4 separate regions of the Homo sapiens genome follow, and regions 2, 3 and 4 are each linked to region 1. Evidence: promoter capture Hi-C in 16 types of primary human blood cells and fetal thymus (Javierre and others, 2016). All regions are on one chromosome and are shown on one strand. Each heading gives the region's core, a stretch centred on a gene start or on the middle of the fragment in contact. The rest is flanking DNA. Distances are from core to core; before and after follow the strand shown. Region 1 holds the start of OSBPL10 (oxysterol binding protein like 10). Region 2 has its middle 3.5 kb from the start of STT3B. Region 3 overlaps STT3B (STT3 oligosaccharyltransferase complex catalytic subunit B). Region 4 overlaps STT3B (STT3 oligosaccharyltransferase complex catalytic subunit B).

The links. The method cuts DNA at HindIII sites, captures the fragments that hold promoters and counts their contacts. A CHiCAGO score of 5 or more calls a contact.
Region 2: a contact is called between a fragment that was not itself captured here and the fragment with the promoter of OSBPL10 in region 1, in 1 of 17 cell types (naive B cells). The highest score is 5.1, in naive B cells.
Region 3: a fragment that was not itself captured here is called in contact with the fragment with the promoter of OSBPL10 in region 1 in 1 of 17 cell types (endothelial precursors); the score reaches 5.2 in endothelial precursors.
Region 4: a contact is called between a fragment that was not itself captured here and the fragment with the promoter of OSBPL10 in region 1, in 1 of 17 cell types (endothelial precursors). The highest score is 5.2, in endothelial precursors.

The regions. Positions count from the first base shown.
Region 1 is chr3:31,979,269-31,984,229 of GRCh38, forward strand. OSBPL10 (oxysterol binding protein like 10) reads right to left here and starts at 1,994. Exons shown (of 12, transcript NM_017784.5): 1 at 1,631-1,994. The coding sequence starts at 1,911. It overlaps ZNF860 (zinc finger protein 860), which reads left to right and starts at 2,482. Exons shown (of 2, transcript NM_001137674.3): 1 at 2,482-2,634. RefSeq lists an enhancer at 80-129 and a silencer at 1,684-1,753. The HindIII fragment of the contact is 3,310 bases long and covers 1-3,063 here.
Region 2 is chr3:31,526,902-31,531,862 of GRCh38, forward strand. No RefSeq gene overlaps it. Among named protein-coding and RNA genes, the nearest start is that of STT3B, 3.5 kb to the right of the region's middle. RefSeq lists an enhancer at 1-450. The HindIII fragment of the contact is 877 bases long and covers 2,902-3,778 here.
Region 3 is chr3:31,549,656-31,554,616 of GRCh38, forward strand. All of the region lies in intron 1 of STT3B (STT3 oligosaccharyltransferase complex catalytic subunit B), which reads left to right. Among named protein-coding and RNA genes, the nearest start is that of STT3B, 19 kb to the left of the region's middle. The HindIII fragment of the contact is 2,346 bases long and covers 736-3,081 here.
Region 4 is chr3:31,600,054-31,605,014 of GRCh38, forward strand. STT3B (STT3 oligosaccharyltransferase complex catalytic subunit B) reads left to right here. Exons shown (of 16, transcript NM_178862.3): 5 at 307-406. Among named protein-coding and RNA genes, the nearest start is that of STT3B, 70 kb to the left of the region's middle. The HindIII fragment of the contact is 2,390 bases long and covers 1,185-3,574 here.

The sequences.
Region 1 (4,961 bases), core at 744-3,243:
ATAAAAGGATTCAAAAGTTAAGTGCAACTTCCACTAACATAGTAACACATCTCCCAGGAAGCCCAGGTGACTCAGAAAGTCCTATATGTAGAATATCAATATAGAAACAACTCAGTTTCCATACTTCAAAAGACCTCTTCCTCCAAGTTGAGTTTCGTGCAGATAACTGGCTGATATGTTTCAGATGGAAGCAAATCTGAACATTTCCAAACAATCTACAGGAAGAGATAACCAAGTAATATAGTCCATGCAGCAGAGATAAGCAACTTTCCAGGGTATAATTCAAATCTCACAAACATCCTTAAGAGCCCCAAGTCTATTAAGATCTGGAGACTGTTAAATAGGCAGGACAAAATATCCCACCAACCACCTCTCCAAAAAGCATTGTTCTCCTCGCACTGACACTTGTATTTCCCTCTGGCTTGTTTTTGGAAAACAAATTGAAAAAAAAAACAAAAACAAAAAGTAAACAGTAGTGCCACATCTGTTCTTGTCTTCCTCACGATGGCAGATCACACACACTACCACCATTCCAAGTGCCTCCTGAGCCCCTTTCCTCGACAGCCCCATCCTTCCACGTGTCCATAACTAGGCTTCTCAACTGCAAGGGGGAAGTGAGCAGGAAACTTCAAATGGGACCTGAAGAGGAAATAATGATAATAATGTAAATTGCTACTAATATTAAAAGGGGGAGGGTATTTTTTCTTTCTTTTTATTATTTTATTTTATTTTATTTTATTTATTTATTTTTTTTGAGTCGGAGTCTCGCACTGTCGCCCCGGCTAGATTGCAATGGCGCGATCTCGGCTCACTGCAACCTCTGCCTCCGGGGTTCAAGCGATTCTCCTGCCTCAGCCTCCGGAGTAGCTGGAATTACAGGCGCGCCGCCACGCCCGGCTAATTTTTTTTGTTTTTAGTAGAGACGGGTTTTCACCATGTTGGCGAGGCTGGTCTCGAACTCCTGACTTCGTGATCTGCCCGCCTCGGCCTCCCAAAGTACTGGGATTACAGAGGTGAGCCACCGCGCCCGGCCTCTTTCTGTTTTTAAACAAAACTTCCATTACAAACATCGGAGGCTGCAAGGCACAAACTGGGGCAGGAGTATGCACAGTCGCCCAGGATGACAAGTGGCAGGTTTTTTGTTGATGGTGGTGGTGTTCTGAAACACCAAACTTTAAAATGAACTGTTACTTAGAGAATTACTGTAATCGGAGCGGACGTGCTAACGCTTTTTCACCCCGGCACAAAGCACGCCCCTTCTGCCTCCCTTTCCCAGTCATTCTTCAGGCGTGCGGGAAACCGCGGACAAGCAGAGCACGGGGACCAGCACGATCCTCCTGCCACCACTCCAGTCTCTGCAGGTGCCAGCATAGAAGAAAACCAGGGCTCTCGCCTCCCTCCCCGCCACTGCGGTGCGGTCCCGGGGTGGAGCCACGGCGCGCCCCATCCTGAGAACCCCACCTGGAGGGGAGCAGGGACGCAGGAAGGGCACCGTTGGGAGGCATCACTGGGTTCGCTGAAGGCACAATCGCGCGCGCACACACATACACAGACACACATACACACACGCACGCACACACACACACACACACACAGCGGCGCGCGGTGGCGCGGGCGGCTGGCGCGTTACCTGTTCTGCCAGCCCTGGAGGAGGTTGGTGTATTTGCTGAGCACGCCCTCGAGCGCCGGCTCCCTCCTGCGGCCGCCTCCCCCGGACGGGCTAGCGGCCACAGAGCCCGGGCTGCTGCGGCTTCCCCCGCCGCCGAGCCCGGCCGCCGCCGACCGGCTGGAGACCCCCCGGCCCGCCAGAGAGCAGGAGGGCGAGGAGCCCGCCGAGGTAGCACGGCTGCTGCTGCGGCTGCTGCTGTTGCTACCCCCGCCGCCGTCTGTGCCCTGGACTGCCCTCTCCATGGTCCGTGGGCGCCCGGGACGCGGGTGCCCGCCGCGGTGGCGGCCCCGGCACGGCGGCTGCTGCTGCTGCTACAGCTCCGGACGCCCGGGCCGCGCGTGCCTGCTCCAAATCCCCGGGAAATGCCTGACTCATACAGGAGGAAGAGGAGGAGGAGGCGAAGGAGAGCTGGGAAGGAAGCCAACGGGGCTGGATGCAGCTGCGGCCGCCCCTCCTCCCGCCGCGGCCAGGGCCCGGCCCCTCCCTCCGCACTAGTTTCCCGGGCAAGTTCGGAGCGGGTGGCCGGCTAGGCGAGCCCTCTTCGGGTTCCTCCTTCTCTTCCTTCGTGTCCCTGCGGCCTCTCAGGCCCTCGGGACACTCTAGGAGGCCGATCTGCAGGGTGGGCACGCCCTAAATCCACGCCAAGTCACCCACGCATTCCTTCTGCCACCCTCTCTTGGATCCGAAGGGGCGAAAGGGAATCTCTGCACGTCACTCCCCACCCCTTATCCACCTCGGGACCTGGAGGGAGGGGCAGCCCCACCCACCCGGTCCACCCGGATATGGACCCGCCCGGCCTGACAGGCTCACACGCACACTCCCTCTCTCGGTCTTCCGCACACGATGCTGCGCCAGACGCTCCTACACAGTAACCTGGAAATTATCACCGGCGGAGCAAAGTCACAGCTCAGGGAGGCCCTCCGCGTTGTCTGGCGGAGGAGGGGAGTGGCAGGTGATCCTCACAGGTAAGCTCGCCGGGCATTTTCATGCAGCAGGATTATGATAAATGCTTAACAGACACACGGCTGGGCTGGGGTGAGGCGCGCGAACTCTCAGGTTTGTGCGAGTGCTTCCTTAAATTGAGTGTCCTAGGTCACTCACTGGCCTAACCCTAATCCCCTGCCCTGAATGGCACGCATAAACCTGGCAAGTCAAAACCTATCCATTGCTACCACACTGCACGTGCACCTAGGAGCAGAGGCTCTGAAACCGGGAAAACTGCTCCAGAGGCAAGGGAAATTAACAGATATTTACAAACATTGAAGGATTCTCTGTGTTGGCTGTAACTTCTGCGCCCCTCTTCCTACCTAAAGATACTCTTTCTATCCCACTAATATTTTTTGTGAATATAGATATCCATTGTAATCTGAAGTATCAAAAATTACCTAGAAAAAAGCTTTGAGGAACTCAGACTCTCTCTCTCACACACACACAGACAAAACAAAAGGTGATAGATGATAGGTGATCTCCGTCCAAAGGATCTACAAACCCATCAAGCAGATAAATACTTCAAGAGTTAAAAAAAATTACTAAATGGAAAAGTCAGCTCTCAAAGGGACAGTTCCCCGAGCCCAACCCCTTTCTAGCTTCACATCCTTCCAGGAAGATTTCATGGGTGGTTTAGCTCTAGAGATGCACGGAGAAGCTTCTGGAGTTGAAGAGAAGTGGTTGTGCCCCTGAGTAAATTACAATTCCAGGTGCCTACATAGTGTTAAAAAAAAAAAAATCTGAAAAGAGCTTGCCTGGACCAAATTTGAAGCCATTCAGAGCTGAATTCTAACCTATGACCTTGATCAAATTACCTCTTTTAGCCTTAGTTTTCTCACTGCAAAATGGGACAAATGATACCGGCTGTAATAAACTATGCAAGAATGTTCATTTGTTCAAAATATTTACTGCCGCTTCCTATGGAAAGAGTATCCTTCCTCCACATGGACCTTAGGCTTGGCCATGGAATTGCTTTGAGCAATGGAATGTGAACAGAAGTAATGAATGCCCCTTCCAAACATAAGCTTTAAGAGCAGTCATATGGTTCCACCATCTTTCTCTTTTCCTTATCCCAGGAGAGCAGCATGTCCCGGATAAGGACTCTCCTTAAGCTTGTGTCCTGGAGTGAGAAGGTGTGGAATACAGCAGATCCTAAGCCAGTTAGTGTTGGCCATGTAACATGCACAAAATGTTTGTTTGAAGCCATTGAGATTTTAGCATTATTTTTTACCACAGCATAGCTTTGCCTAAGCTAACTTACTGATCATATATGAGTGTTCATTGAGTCCTGCATTGACATACAGACTGAAGGTGGGAAGGTAGGTGCATACTGGACTATAAATGTCAGCATTATGTACCAAAACAACATGCCTTTTATTGGAGACTGCCACCTTAAGCTCCTGCTAAAAGAGGAGAAGTGTCATTTTATTTCATATTACCTAACCTATGCCACCATTACTCCACCTTATGCAGCCAACCTAAGACTGAATGAGCTAGCACAACAAATTCTCACCTTGGACTAAAAAATTAGACCCTTGAGATAGACCAGTTCAAGTGGGGAAGGAACTAAGCTAAAAGGAATAGTCAAGGCCAGGATGGGGCAGGAGCAAGCCAGCCGTATGGGATCAAAAATGTCCAAGAGGTGAGTGGAGCAGATGTGCTGAAAGTAGAGGCTATATCATGAAAGAGTGATGAAGCACATGCTGTTCCTCCTGCTGGTGACACTGTTCCCTGCTCTCTTCACCCGGTTTGTGTTTCTCACCCATGGAGTTATGGATTACAAGTCACTTCTTCCAGAAAGCTTTCCTTGACCTACCGTAGTATAGCAAATAGGGAAAAGGTACCTGCAGAATTATGTTTGGAGAGGAAAAAGTCTTTATGTTTGAAAAACAATTTGGAAAATACATAATAAGTTGGCAAAAAGTATTTGAAATACATACTGTAATGCCCAACAGTTTCATCTTGCTTGTTACCCGGAAAAGCCAATGCAGGTTTTTGCAATAGAGGAAGAGTTTAACAATTGTAGGGCCAGCCAAGCTGGAGCACAGGAGTGTATTATTACTCAAATCAATCTCCCTGAAAATTCAGAGCCTAAGGGGTTTTTTTTGTTTTTGTTTTTGTTTTTGTTTTGAGACTGGAGTCTCGCTCTGTCACCCAGGCTGGAGTGTAGTGGCACGACCTCAGCTCACTGCAAGCCCTGCCTCCCGGGTTCACGTCATTCTCCTGCCTCACAGCTTCCCCAGTAGCTGGGACTACAGGCACCTGCCACCATGCCCAGCTAATTTTTTTGTATTTTTAGTAGAGA
Region 2 (4,961 bases), core at 2,090-4,589, 450 kb before region 1:
CCGTGGTCTCCTTCTCCTGACCTCGTGATCCGCCCGCCTCGGCCTCCCAAAGTGCTGGGATTACAGGCGTGAGCCACCGCCCCCGGCCTTCCTCTGCTTCTAATGCATCCTTCCCACACTCCAAATCTCACTTGTCAACATCCTACCTATTCATTTTTTTTTTTTCTTTCTGTCACCCAGGCTGGAGTGCAGTGCTGTGATCTCGGCTTACTGCAACCTCCGCCTCCCAGGTTCAAGCCATTCTCCTGCCTCAGCCTCCTGAGTAGCTGGGATTACAGGTGTGCACCACCATGCCCGGCTAATTTTTGTATTTTTAGTAGAGATGGGGGTTTCACCATATTGGCCAGGCTGGTCTCAAACTCCTGACCTTGTGATCTACCTGCCTTGGCCTCCCAAAGTGCTGGGATTACAGGCGTGAGCCACAGCTTCCGGCCAACATTCTACCTATTCTTTAAGGCCAATCACTTCATGAACATGTCCTTGATGACTGCCCAGACACAAGCTCTCACTCTTCACAGTGATCATGATAGAAAACATTCTCTGCCTCATACTGGATTTTGAGCTAGATTAGATCACAGCAATCCCCTTATCATCTACCGCAAAGGCCAACAAACTCTGGTCTGCAGGTGTGGTTGTGTTTACTGAAGAACAGCCATGCCTGTTCTCTTACATATTGTCCATTGCTACTTTCACACTACAACAACAGGGTTGAGTAGTAGCCTGAGACAGCATGGCCCACAAAGATGAAAATATTTACTGTGTTGCCTTTTACAAAAAAAGTTGCAGACCCCAGTTCTATTGGATTATAAATTGGAGGTTATTATTCATTATCAGCAGCTAGGTATTGCCTAACTTTGTAAGGTGTTTTATTTGAAGCAGGCATTTTCTGGCTTAAAGAAATAAAGAAGCACTCGTATGGGCTCGGGTCATGGAGAATTATTTTAAGGCTATCCAGGGGAGTAAGTCTCATAGCCCATCTGTCATGGTTCTGAATATAGCAGTAGTACCAGTGATATTGTTAATAACCAACATATATTGAATATTTCCTTTGCGCCAGGCACTGTCCTAAGTTATTTTCATGTATTGATTCATTTATTTCTTCTTATAACCCTAAGAGAAAGGTTCAGTGCTTATCTACGCTGTAAAGATGAGGATACCAAGGAGCAGAGATGGGAAGTAGCTTGCCAAAAGCCATGTGACTCAGAAGAACTAAAGTCAAGATTTGGTACCCAGCGTGTCTGCAGAGCCTGTGCTCTAAACCACCACACAGTACCACTTAGCAGCATACCTAGCTCAAATCTTTTTTCTCCCTCTCTGCTTCTCTCCTCTACTGGGGCTATGGACTACCAGGGAGGTTCTTTGACAGGTGCTTGTCAGAAAGGGACAATATAAGCATTGGGAATTCCCTCAGTTACCAGATATTTGCAAATGTCAATTATATTGTAGACCGTAGCAGCCCCCTAGTGTGGTGTGTCTAGTACAAGCGTACATGTCTTGTTGTTTGTGTTTCTCTAGGAAGAATGAAACCCACTCTCCGACCTGTGTCATTCCTGGGACACATCACAGGCACTTAAATCTTTTCTTGATCACTGTGGGAAAGGCTAGGGACTGCGGATCGTAATTTAGTTTTTTCTTGGTCTGATTTGGTCCTGTCTGTGCTTTTGAAACCAGACTTTTAGAAAGGGTGGTATACATTCTCTGCCTCCACATCCCTTGCCACTGATCCCTTCTCACCTGCTGCCATCTGGTTTCTGCCCCTATGACTCCACTAAAATTGACCTTGCTAAAGTAATTGGTGAACTCCTGGTTGCCAAAAGAAAGGTACACTTTTCAGCTGTGTCACACTCCATTTCTCTGTACCTTGTGCTGCTTCTGACTTCACTTTATTTCCCTTTCTTCACTGCTGGGACATTGCTCTATCTTGGGCTCCCTGTAGGCACATCTAAATTTGGAAAGTCCTTAGGGCTCTATCCTCAACCCTTGTCTCCTTGTCTATAGCCTTGATTCCAGCAAAATTTCACCCGTAGCCATGGAGTCCCAAGCCTTTATCCCAGAAAACCCTTCCTCCTGAACATCACATCTCTTTAAGTGTCTGTTATCCAGCTCCTCTTGGATGTCCTACAGGGACTTAAAACATTACATCTCCAAAGCTGATTTGATCATCTCCCCTCCAAATCTGCTGCTTGTCCTTTGCTCCCTATTTCTGAGACATCACTTTCCATCCAAATAACTAAACCAGAAACTCCAGATTTGTCCTAAACCCTACTTTTATTTTACCCCAATCACCAATTTCTGGACTCTACCCTCTTGATACCTCTCCTATCAGTCCTCTCCTCTCTGAGCCCTACTGTCCCAGTTTTGGTACCTAATTCTCTTGCCTAAATTTCTGTAAATGCTTCCTTATTGGTTTCTCTGCTTCCACTCTCACCCTTTCCAGTACATCTTTCATACTACTGTCAATTTTTTTCTTCCATCAACCAAGTCTGATCATGTTATTGTTGTTCAAAATGTTTCAATGAATCCCAGCTGCTTACAGAATAATAAACTCCTTTACCAGGCAGACAAGTCCTTGATAATCTGGTTCTTATCCCTCTTTCAGTCTCATCTCCCAATGCACCTTCATTAATATTAAACTTTGTGTATTAATTTGAAGGACTTCCTCGTTCCTTCTTGGAATCCCCCATCCCTCTTCCTGGTGTGTCTTGTGAACTTCTGCTCACCCCTCAAGTTTCAACTCAAATACTCCCTTCCCCTGGAAGCTGGGCCTCTGATGTCACACCACTCTGCTCATCATGTTGCACCCATAGTGTTTGATTGACTCCTGAGATATTTGAACTCAGGAGGATGTTACAAGCACCTAGCAGGATTAGAACCTCAAGTGCAAAGGGGCAAACACATTCAAGCTTCATCACAAACTGTAAACAATTTTTCCAAGTTGATAGGCTAGAAATTGTGAATTCACAATGCTGCAATTTATTTTTATGGGTTCTCTAGTGGTTCCACAATAGCATATTCCTCACAAAAGTAATCTCTGAATTCTCAGGTAGAGCTTTTACTGGTCTCCTCTCCAAAATGCTTTTCACATTGCAGCCTTGGTAATCTTTTCAAAACACACATCTGATCAACTCTCTCCCTCTATCTCAAATACACTACATGCTGCTTAAAACCCTTTATGGCTTCTCAATATTCTGAAGTTAACATGAAGCAAAAAACACCTCTTAAAAGGACCTACACTACCCGGCCATTCCTTTGACTCCTACTGCACCTTGTCCCACTGTCTGCATTGCAGCCACTTTTCTGGGTTACTCGTATGCCTCCCCTGCCCCACTGCAGTGCCTTTGCACGTGCTTCTCTATGTAACGCGTTCCATTCTCCTTCTCCTCGTCCGTTCATCATCACTTCCAGTGCTGCTTCCTCAGGGTAATGTTTCTCATCCTTCTGGTGTAGATCAAATTCCCCATGTGCCTGTCCTCCACAGTGTTTGTCACCCTGCATTTTGGTCCTGAACCATCTGATGATTTGGTTAATACCTCCCTTCCTAGGGCTGGCTGGTGAACTCTCTGAGAGTAGGAGCCCTGTCTTTCCTGTTCCTAGCTGAATCCCCATGCATCCCAGTTCACTCACAGTGGTCGGCATAAAGGAGTTCAATATATACTTGCTGAATGAATGAGTGAATAAATGAAGGTCAAAAATCAAGGGGTTTTCGTAGGGCTTTTCACCTTTACCACTACCCTGTATTTGCACGTTCCTTAACAATTTCCTAAAATGCTTTCAGATAAGCTTTTTTAATATTAACAACTGACTTTAAGAGCAGAAAGGGCAACCCATGCAGGTGACTTGTCCAATGCTACATGACTAGTAAGCAACAATTTGGGACTATTTCACTTTGTCACTTTTCAGATCAGGCCTATGGCCATTAAACAGCCAAAACAGGAAGCAAAAGAAGATAACGTAGAACTTACTAGGGAATAGATACACAAAGACAATAAAATAGAAATATCCAAACAAATTAAAATAAAAACACAAATTTTATTTTAGACTGATAAAACTTTGGTTCAGGGAACACAGACAAAAATCCTCTGCTGTCATTTCAGCATGTACCGTTTGGGCTATGAGGAAAAGCATGTCATCTTTCTCTGTATAACAGAGGCAGTTAATATTTTATCCTAATTCTCATTAAAATGTGTACGTTCAATAAATGTCGGCTATTAAACTGTTGGTGAGAAAGTCTATTTCTGGAAACCTTTTCATTATTTCCTTAATAAGACTATTTATGGTTTTTTTAAGGAAACAAGACAAAACGTAACCACTTAGCAGGTTAAAAGGGTAGCTGGAGTTGCCTTACTTTCAAGGAGCTACCTCAAAATAACTAGGGTTCATTTATCTAATATTTTAAGACTTCTATTAATATTGAAACACAATTTGTAGTTAAAGAGAAAAATTTAAATCACCTAAGAAAATAATTCAGGGCCTTTATAGTTTTACATTAATATGCCCTTTAATATCCAGATGTTACTTACCTAATAAAATGTACAATTAGCTGTGAATTGACATGAACAAGTATTTACTGAGCACCGATTACGCCGAAAGCTCCGTACTTTCTATGGGGTTTATATAAGAGCAATTCGAGTCTCCCCACTACCTCACTTAGTTTAAGCTCATTTTGCCCTGAGTTTATCTGGTAGCACTTTATTTTAGCGGACAAGGAGGGAAGTGGGGAAAGGAAAGGAATTATAAAAATACAAGGTAGACGTGCACAAGAACCTTCGTTCTATTATTATTTAGTAAAGTGAGAACTGGAAACAGCTTAACGTCCAGGGTAAGTTAGTTTCACTCACTCGACGGAATGTATGCAGCCGTTAATGTATTTCTGCATTTTCCCATATTTCCAGTGAACATACAGTACTTTCGCAATTCGGAGTACAAACGAAAAAGGGCGAGAGAAGGTCGCATTTTGCCTG
Region 3 (4,961 bases), core at 659-3,158, 430 kb before region 1:
AGAAATCCTCTTTATATAGTATAATGCATAATCATATGTCTAATTTAGATAATATCTAGTAACAATAAAGAAATGTAAATATAACATGTTTACATATAATATTTATTGGAGATTTGTTTCTATAATATATGAATAGTTATGCCGGACTTAAATATATGTTATACACGTTGTGCGTGCGTTATATAAAGAGAAAGAACACTTGTGCCCATCCCTTCTGCCTACATTATTTAGATTTCCATCTCTATTGGGCTTAGCTGAGCAAAGTGTCACCGGATAGTTTTAATTGATCAAATATACTATTTTGTATGTGATCTTAGATTTTTTTTTCAGATTTTTTTAGTGCCATTAAAATGCTCTAACAGCCTCTTATTTTGTTGTAATTTTTTTTGTTGTCAGTTGCTTTTTCTTTTTTCCAATTAGTTTAGTAAATGTCCTTTATAAATCAGAATAGACCCTCCTTTTTCAAATGGATACTGATAAAAATTGACAGCTGTCACTGCCAGTTAAGGCAGAAATTAAGAGATGGTACTAAAATAGGAATCCTGTTTTCAGTTAATGTGTGTTTAAAAGTTTTGCCCTGTGTGTTCTTTTTTGATTTGCACATGCATCTGACTTTAAATTGGAAGATGCAGAGTAGCTCTAAGGAGTCTTCAAGACATTTTTGCAGCCTTTAAACAACCTTTGGTTTTCTCTCTGTGTTGCTCAAAGTAGAGAGACAGGTACTTTGTTATCTGAAGCTTATGACATGCTCTCTGCTTCAATCAAAATGACCACCCATCAGTTGCAAGAGCAGAGAGAGAGGTTTGTGAGAGTAGTCTGAGATCCAGTTGCAACTGTACAGTGTCACATTTATGGTGGTATGACATTTGTGAGTCTTTCCCTTCAGAGTTAACCTAGTAAAAAAAGTTATTCTCATATATCATTAGTAATCCTTATGAATTTCTATCATTGTTTTCCTGCTGTTACTTAAACACTGATAGGAATTTATGTAATCATATTAGGCTTGAGCATAACTCTCTCATGAGTTTCCATATTTTAAGTTATAAAATTGGCTATGTTTAATGTGATTATCTAGACAGTGCTCGTGTGTATCACTTGGTGAGATTGAATTTAGGCTGTTTTTTTCGTTCTATTGAAGGGGGATTTTTTTTTTCCATGTGTTACTTTTAATAGAGTTCATCAGTCTGGCATCCTTTTGTTTTTGATCCTGCCACTAGATGGCAGGAGCAATAAAAGGTAGATTGAAATGCCAACTTTAGTTGGCCTTAGCTGCTTTGTACTTTACCTTGGTTGTTCTCTGTCCCTATTAGTGCTGAATTTTGGGTATATATGAAGTGTTGCAAATAGTGGTACTTAGTCCTATAAGAAAGATCTGGTACCTTATATAGCCTGAGAGGGCCTACTAATAGGGTAAAGGAGAAAGAATAGAATAATCCTTGAGGTGTTCTAACACTTTGTCTTTTGCCTTTTACTTTTCTATTTTTCTTCTCCCTTTGTTGAATTGTACTCCTTTCCTTTATTTCCTGATTGTGGTTTTTGGGTGTTTTTTGTTTGTTTGTTTGTTTGTTTGTTTGGTTTTTGATAGGGTCTTGTTCTGTCACCCACAGTGGAGTGCAGTGGTGTCATCTCGGCTCACTACAACCTCCGCCTCCCAGGCTCAAATGATCCTCCCACCTTAGCCTCTCAAGTAGCTGGCACTACATGCGCATGCCACCACGCCTGGCTAATTTTGAAAAATTTCTGGTAGAGACAGGTTTTGCCATGTTGCCCAGGCTGGTCTTGAACTCCTGGGCTCAAGTGATCCACCCACCTTGGCCTCTCAGAGTGCTGGGATTACCTGCATGAGCCACTGTGCCTGGCCTCTTTCCTGATTCTTTTATGCTTACGTTAGCATCCATAATTGGTCATTTCTGTTGGTGGTACTAGTCGCTTTCTCATTTACCGTTCCCACGAATACATGTTAACTTGGCCAGTTTTGGTAGTCGTATGTGTAACAACAAACTGTTATAGGTGGCTTTGTAAATCTTTACAGAAAGGGTTATTTTCAAGAGAGCCTGTTAATTGATAGTCTTTGAAGAACAGAGTGATAGACAGAGTCTAGGGTGATGGGATGTTGCTTCCGTGATTATGTGACGTTGTGTAAAACTTTGTCTTACCAGTAGACTTGCACCAGAGACTCCTTGCTGGCATTATAAGATAAGCAGCCCTGTTAGGGAAGCCTATGTGGCAAGGAACTACTAACAGCCTCTATGATGTTTCCACCAACAGCCAGGAAGAAACCAGGGCCCCTCAGTCCTATAACCTCAAGGAAGTGAATTCTGCTAGAAGCCTGAGTGAGCTTGGAAGCAGATTATTTCCCTAATTTAGCCTCCACATAAGAACCCAACCCTGGTGACATCCTGATGTCAACCTTGTGCGACCCTAAACAGAAGATCCAGCTAAACTGTGCCTAGATTCCTGACCCATGAAGCTATGATAGAATTAGTATATGTTGGTTTAAGCCACTGAGTTTGTTTAAAATTGCTGTATAAGCAATAGGAAACTAATACAAATACCCTTCGTAAACCTTTCTTTCCATCTCTGAATGTTACTACCTAACTTCTCTCTGATCTCATGTAATCAAAAAATATTGATTGAATACCTCTTACTTGCCAGGGACTATGGCTACAGTAGTGTGAACCCAAATAGACATGATTCTAGTTTAGTGAGGGAGTTAGACTTGAACCAGTAAGAATGACCAATGCTGTCAAGGAACATGATACAATGAGAGCTTATAATAGGGAGATAAACTAAACACATTGTCTTTTTAGGAATCCTTATTTGACTTTTAAAAACTTATACTTACTACATTGCTTTCTTACCTTTTTTTTTAAAGCATATTTCTGCCATCACAAAACTTGTTCTATCTTTATTTTCTGTTAGCATTATGAAAACTACCTATGTGTATTTTTTAACCCTTACGAGTGTTCTTTCCTCTCTCAAGAACACTTCTCCTCTTTTCCTGCCTTTTTGCTCAATAATTCATCCAGGTTTAAGTTAGATGTCAGTTGTAGAAGCCATCCACGAGTCCTTTGGACAGTAAGCTTTGTGAGGACAGGTCCGTCCTGTTTGCTAGTATCTTTAGCACCCAGTGTGATACATAAGATAGGCTCTTAAAACCAAATAAGGCCGGGCACGGTGGCTCACGCCTGTAATCCCAGCACTTTGGGAGGCCGAGACGGGCGGATCACGAGGTCAGGAGATCGAGACCATCCTGGCTAACACGGTGAAACCCCGTCTCTACTAAAAATACAAAAATTAGCCGGGCATGGTGGCGCGTGCCTGTAGTCCCAGCTACACGGGAGGCTGAGGCAGGAGAATGGCGTGAACCCGGGAGGCGGAGCTTGCAGTGAGTCGAGATCGCGCCACTGCACTCCAGCCTGGGCGACAGAGCGAAACTCCGTCTCAAAAAAAAAAAAAAAAAACCAAATAAAACTTGATAGGGAGGAACTGGAACTCCTGTACATTGCTGATGGGAGTGTAAATGGTAACTATTTTGGAGAACTGTTTAGTATTTCTTAAATACGTGTCTACTATATAACTTTGGAGTGGAATTGCTAAGTATTCACCCAAAGAAGTGAAAACCTGTGTCCTTAAAAAAGGCTTTTACAAGAATGCTTGTTCATATTTTATAAGAATGAATGTACAGCCTTATTATTTCCTCCCCCGGAAACAACCCAAATGCCCTTCAGAAGGGGAATGGATTGTAGTATGCATTAAATGGAATACTACTCAGCAGTAAAAAAGAATAAACTGTTGGTATATGAATATATCTCAAAAACATGTTAAATGAAAGAAGCCTGATTCACCTTTTTAAAAAGTAGAATTACGATTATTCCATTTATCTGAAATCCGAGAACAAACATAATGAATCTATGGTGAAAGAAGTCAAAGTATGCTTGGAAAGAAGTGCCTAAAGGTGCATGTGGGAACTTTCATCATGAGGGTGATGTTATGCATACAGTTGTCAAACCTCATCTAATGAAACATGTCAATTGGTGTATTTTAAAGCATCTAAATTATACTTTAGATTTTAAAAATGAAAAAAAATGAGCGAAGAAGGTATCCTTTAGTACCCCCTGGGTTCTCTGCTTAATTATATTTTCTTGTTGCCTCTTCCTCCTGTGAGATTGTCAGCTCTGTGAGGTCAGGGACCAAGTTTGCCTGTGGTTCTTAGAATTGTGTACTTGTATGCAGAATGCCCAAGTTTATTGGCCCTGAAGTGAATAGTTATTTGAGATCTATAATCTATTCATAGATTATATCCATATTTTATGGCTGCATTTTTAAGAAAAATATTTGCATTATTACAGAATCTTACATTCAGTGTTTTTCTTTATGTAGCTTCTAGCTTTTTCTGTTCTAGGATTCACAAAAGACATCTGTTTAAGTGTTGGTAGAGTAGTCTTGCTCCAACTACAATTTTGCCAACCACAGTTTGAGATAGCACAGTGCTATATTTGTAAACCAAAGTTTAAAAATCAGATTTTAAGAAACAAATTGTGGTTTATTTTATTCTCCTTAAAAAAATGAAAACTCAATATTAATCTTGTTTTCTTGTGAATCCCTTCCTGCCAGTTCTTAACTTTTTGAGCCAATGGAAAAAATGAGCCTTGGTCATTTAATCTTTTTGATCAAAAGCCCTTAAACACCAGAGTAATTTGAAAAAGAACCAGGTGGTTACATAGCTTTTTGTCTAACTAGTACTATCTCTCGTTGTTGTTGTTTGTTTTTGTTTTGCTGTTTTGTTTTCCCTGATGAAAATAATACTAAATTTTAAATGATTTAATGGCCGTGTCAAAAACTTGAAAGATAAGTGTGTAGATAGTCTGAATTTCCCAAAACCGCGTCAGCAGCTCCAAGGTGTAATTTCTCTGAAACTTTAAGAAGGTAACTCAGAGCAGATTTTTCAGTGCTGGTGA
Region 4 (4,961 bases), core at 1,130-3,629, 380 kb before region 1:
TGACAGTCTGTTTACTGACAATTCACAAATTATAATACTCTCAGCTTTTCTATTAAATCTAATTTAATTTGAACATTTCTCCAGTGCGTTTGGAAAAGCATATTGGATTTGTGGGATCGTGTTATTTTAATGATCAATAAAAATGAGGAATACGTTCTTCATAGGTTAGTAAGTTCTTATTTAAGCATTTCTCAAAATTGCTAAAATCTTAATGTTTATATTTGCTCATTGTATGTTTAGATTCCTAAATATACTTATTTTAAAAAGTAAAAATATATATTTAACTTAGCACTTCTTTTCCTATAGGTCTCTGCTTGGGGTGGTTATGTATTTATCATCAATCTTATTCCACTGCATGTATTTGTGTTGTTACTGATGCAGAGATACAGCAAAAGAGTCTACATAGGTAAGTAATTTGATTTTTGACATCTGTCAACTAAGAGATGTTTTGTATTCATTCATTTTATTGAAGAGATATTTCTATTTGGTCAATATTATGCATGAAAAGGTAAAAATAATTTTGTGTTCATTTTGCTGTTTATATTGATAAGGTCAGGCATTTTTATATAAGTGCTTTGTCATCAACTTTTCCTTGACAAGTTTTTTTTTCGTTTTTGTAGAAATTAGTCTGGGTTTAATATTTGTCTACACTTTTTCCTCCTCTTAATTTTGGGGAATGGGAATTTTTATCATGAAAATCGTTCACATTTTTTATATCGAATTCAACTTACTGTAAGAGATTGACATCCTCAAAGTAAGCAGCTTAATAAGCTTTCAGAAGCTCTTTTTTGGATAATGTACTAATAGACTGAGTCTCTGTTGTCTCTAGAAAAATGTTCATTTTTCTCTACAGGTTTTAAAACAATATTTTCACTGTGATGTTTAGCGGTAGATGATGTTTCACCTTAGATCTCATTTTCCATGATAGAGTTAGAACTTCTATGGGTTGAAGGAACTAGAGAGCAATTGTGAACTGAAACCAGTGTCTTAGTAAAATAATACAATTCTATTATAATAATGTTTTTGGAAAACAATAACACAAAGATAAATCTTAATTAAATTCATTTTCAAAAGCATAGTAGCTTGGCAATTTCTCAGAAGTTAACCATAGATTCGTCATATGACCAAGCAGTTCCACTCCTAGGTATTTACCCAAGAGAACCGAAAACATATATTCATACAAAAGCTTCTATGTGAATGTTTATAGCAGCATTTATTGTGCATAATGGCCAAAAATGAAGACAACCCAAATGTCTATCAGCTTTATGAAACCATAAAATATGGTATATTCATACAATGGTGTATTATTAAGCCATGAAAAGGAATAAAATACTGATATATGCTACAACATGAACCTTGAAAACTTTATACCATTATGTAAAAAAGCCAGACATAAAAGGCCACATAGTATATGATTCTGTTAGTGTGAAATGTCCAGAATAGGCAAATCCATAGAAACAGAAAGTAGAGTTTGTGGGAAATGTCCAGAATGGGTAAATCCATAGCAACAGAAAGTAGATTAGTGGTTGCCTGGGGATTTAGGAGGAGGAGAATGTGGAGAGGAGAGGAGAGGTGTGACTGTTGAATGGATATGGGGTCTCTTTCAAGGATGAGGAAATATTTTAGAATTATATAGTAGTGATGGTCGCACAACCTTGTGAATACACCAAAAACCATTACATGATAGGTTATTAAAAGATAAATTTTATAGTATATTAATTGTATCTCAACAAAATAAAAAAGCATAGTATATTACATTTATAGCCATTTCAGCATACTTTTTCATTTGATACTGTGAGGGTAGGTACTATTCTCATTTTACAGGTGAGGAAACAAGAGGAGACATAATAATTTGCTAAAGATCATGTAGCTAATAACGGGGCTGAGGCTTGAACTCAGATTTTGGCTTTAAAGCCTGTAATGAGCCAGCTGTAGTAGCTCACACCTCTTATCCCAGCTACTCAGGAGGCTGAGGCTGGAGTTCCACTTGAGTCCAGGAGTTCAAGACTGCAGTGTGCTGTGATCTTGCCACTGCACTCCAGCCTGGGTGACAGAAGGAGACCTGTCTCTGATTGCATGAATGACTGAATGAATGGCCCATGATGCTAAAAACCACCAAATCTGTGTGCCTCTCGTTTAAACAAATAACCGTACTGTTGAAATACATACACCTATGTATTTCTCTACCCCAAAAACACTATAAACAGTAGTTGGGATCCAGAAAGGAGAATAATAAATAACAGATTAAACTTTTTTTTTTTAAGTTAAATGGTTACAGTGAAGGAACTAAGAGGGTGTTTTGTTGTTGCTGCTGTTGTTGTTGTTTTGTGTAAATTTAAAAATTGGGGATCTTGGAAATTTAATGGTCAGAGGAATACAAGAGAGAGAAGATTGAGAAATACACTTTATGAAATGCCATGATTCAGGAAGAAGAGCCAAAGGAGATGTCAGAAGTAGTCAAATAAGTATATTGTTAAAATGGTCAGATGGAAGTATATTCTACATAAAAGTTTAAAATTCAAGCAGTGTCCAACTCCCCTTTAACCTTAGCACCAAGATTTCAAAGGATTAGAATTTGAGAAAGGCCTTTGTATTTGGTAGCTGGGATTTTTTTTTTTTTTTTTTTTTTGGTCACTCTAGAAAAATATGAAATTCATACTACTTTGGTTGATTCTTGAGAGTATTTTAAGAAGAAAGAATAATAAAATGGGTTAGGGATGTATGTGTGTATAAAGCTAATGTTCATAATGTTCAAATTCTCCACTCTACCCAACTTGTTTCTTTTACTTATAATTATCCAGGAGTATTTTGATGATTTCTAGTCTGCTTTCTTAGGGTTTACTTCTAAATGGATGGAAAGTAGTATGATAGAGCAAGTGTTGCTCTTCCTTCATCCAGAGTGTGTCAGGATTTAAGTTCAATTTCTCTTAACTTAATGGTCCTAAAAACTATGGAAGCATTGTAAAGTGTTTGTATATAAAGTTCTTTGATTTTGGCACGTAACATCCTTTGTCTTTTGTTCTCTCTCCCCTTGAGCAGAAATGTTTAGGTAAAAAAAAATAAGGATTGATAAATGTCAGACTCATAATTATATTAACTAAAAGTTTAGTTGTGTTGTTCTAAGTGTTGAATTAAATGACTTGAATTATTTTAAATAATTATGAAAAAGTTGTGTCCTCTTTGAGTAGATTTTTTCAAGTGTCCTTAAAATCAATTGTAGCACAACCACAGAAAACTGTCAAAGTTTATTCACATGTGGAAAAGGAGGCACATGGGTGGTAATGTGGATGTATAGTGGTAGAAGAGTGGCATGGGAATTGAGCAAGGGAGGTGTAAGAAAAGCTGAGATGGGAGGCCGTCTCTACTTGAAATTTTGGGAGGAAAAATTTAATTTTCTGTTAAGAGATATTTTTGACTTGGTGAATTTCACTATATTGGGAAGTAAATGTTTAAAAATTATGTTATGCATAGGATTCTACTGTTTTAAAAGGAACACCCAAACCTTATGTTGCATTTGTAGAAAGAATGGCTTGCAGGAAATCACAGTAAAACTGATGGGATGTGAAGTGATTTAAGCTTTCTAATTTGATTAAAGCTTATCATACTTTGTGTTCATGTCATAAGGAAATTATTAAAGATATGAAGTCAAATTTAGGGATATTTACTGTGGTATAACTTGTAATTGTGAAAATATGGAACTAACTTAAATGACCAATAGGGGAATGATTTTTTAATTGCAGTGTTGCCATATGGAATATTATGCAGCCTTTAAATTTAATCTTTTTGAGTATTTGATGACACAGGAAAATGTTAATTAAAAGCAGACAGTAAGGATTACCAGTGATTTTTTTTCATACTTATTTCTGCTTTCCAGATACATACAATGAGTATGTGTTAAGTTTATAATAAATAAGACTTGGTTTTTAGTTTATAGAAATAGGAATTGTACCTCAAGGGCTGCATTAACTAGATTAGGTTAGTAATTTAAGCACAGAAAAGAAATCAATTTCTAATATTGATGAATGCTTTTGAAATGTCACTAGAACAGCTTGTTTATGGCATTGTCTATGTTTTCTGCAGTGAGTTGAGTAAGGAGAGTAACAGTTGTTTTTCATATTATATCTAAAATGTATTTTTTAGATGATATTTGCTGGGAACCGTCATTAAAGTTTTTTGAACATACTACCTACTTTAGTTCTGTACAAATTATTATGGGCATTATATATTTTGTGAATAAAGAAAAGATAATCCAATTATTGAGTACATTAAAAGTAAAGCCAAATTATTAGGAGTCACATTTATACTTGGCAGCTGTAAACAGAACACAGCTAATGCTAGTTTAACTTAGAAAAAACAAACTTAAAAAGATTGCATGTAAAAAATCCAGCATTAAAAAAAGAAAAGTTCCCGGATACAAGGGCTGGAAGCTCTGGAGTTTATTTTGTCTAATTCTACCATACTACTGAGGAAATTAAAGCAAATTTCACTCACCATACATTTATTAAGTGTTGAAAAAATAAATACTGTTTTGTGCTAGCCATTATGATACAAAGATGAATAAAAACCTTCGTGTAAGGAGTGTATATTATACAGTGTAATCAATTTAATAGCATATGATCAAAATGGAAATAGGGAAAAATTTGTGAAAATCAGTTTGGACTTTAACCATGTTCTTTTAAAAGTTTTGGAGATAAGTCTTGATCTTGAGAAGAGAGAATAGTACAGAAGCAGACTTAGAATTTGTGGTAATGTAACCATAAATAAAAGGTGCCATGACATTGAGGGTAAGAGTACATACTCCAGAGCCAATCTACCAGGGTTCAATTCTTGCTCCCTTACTACTGTGTAACTTTGGACAAATTAATGTCCTTTGATGTCCTTAGGCCTTAATGTCCTCATGGGTCAAATAAAGATAATAATAGTTACCTTACAGATTGTTAAGGATTAATGAGTTACAGGTT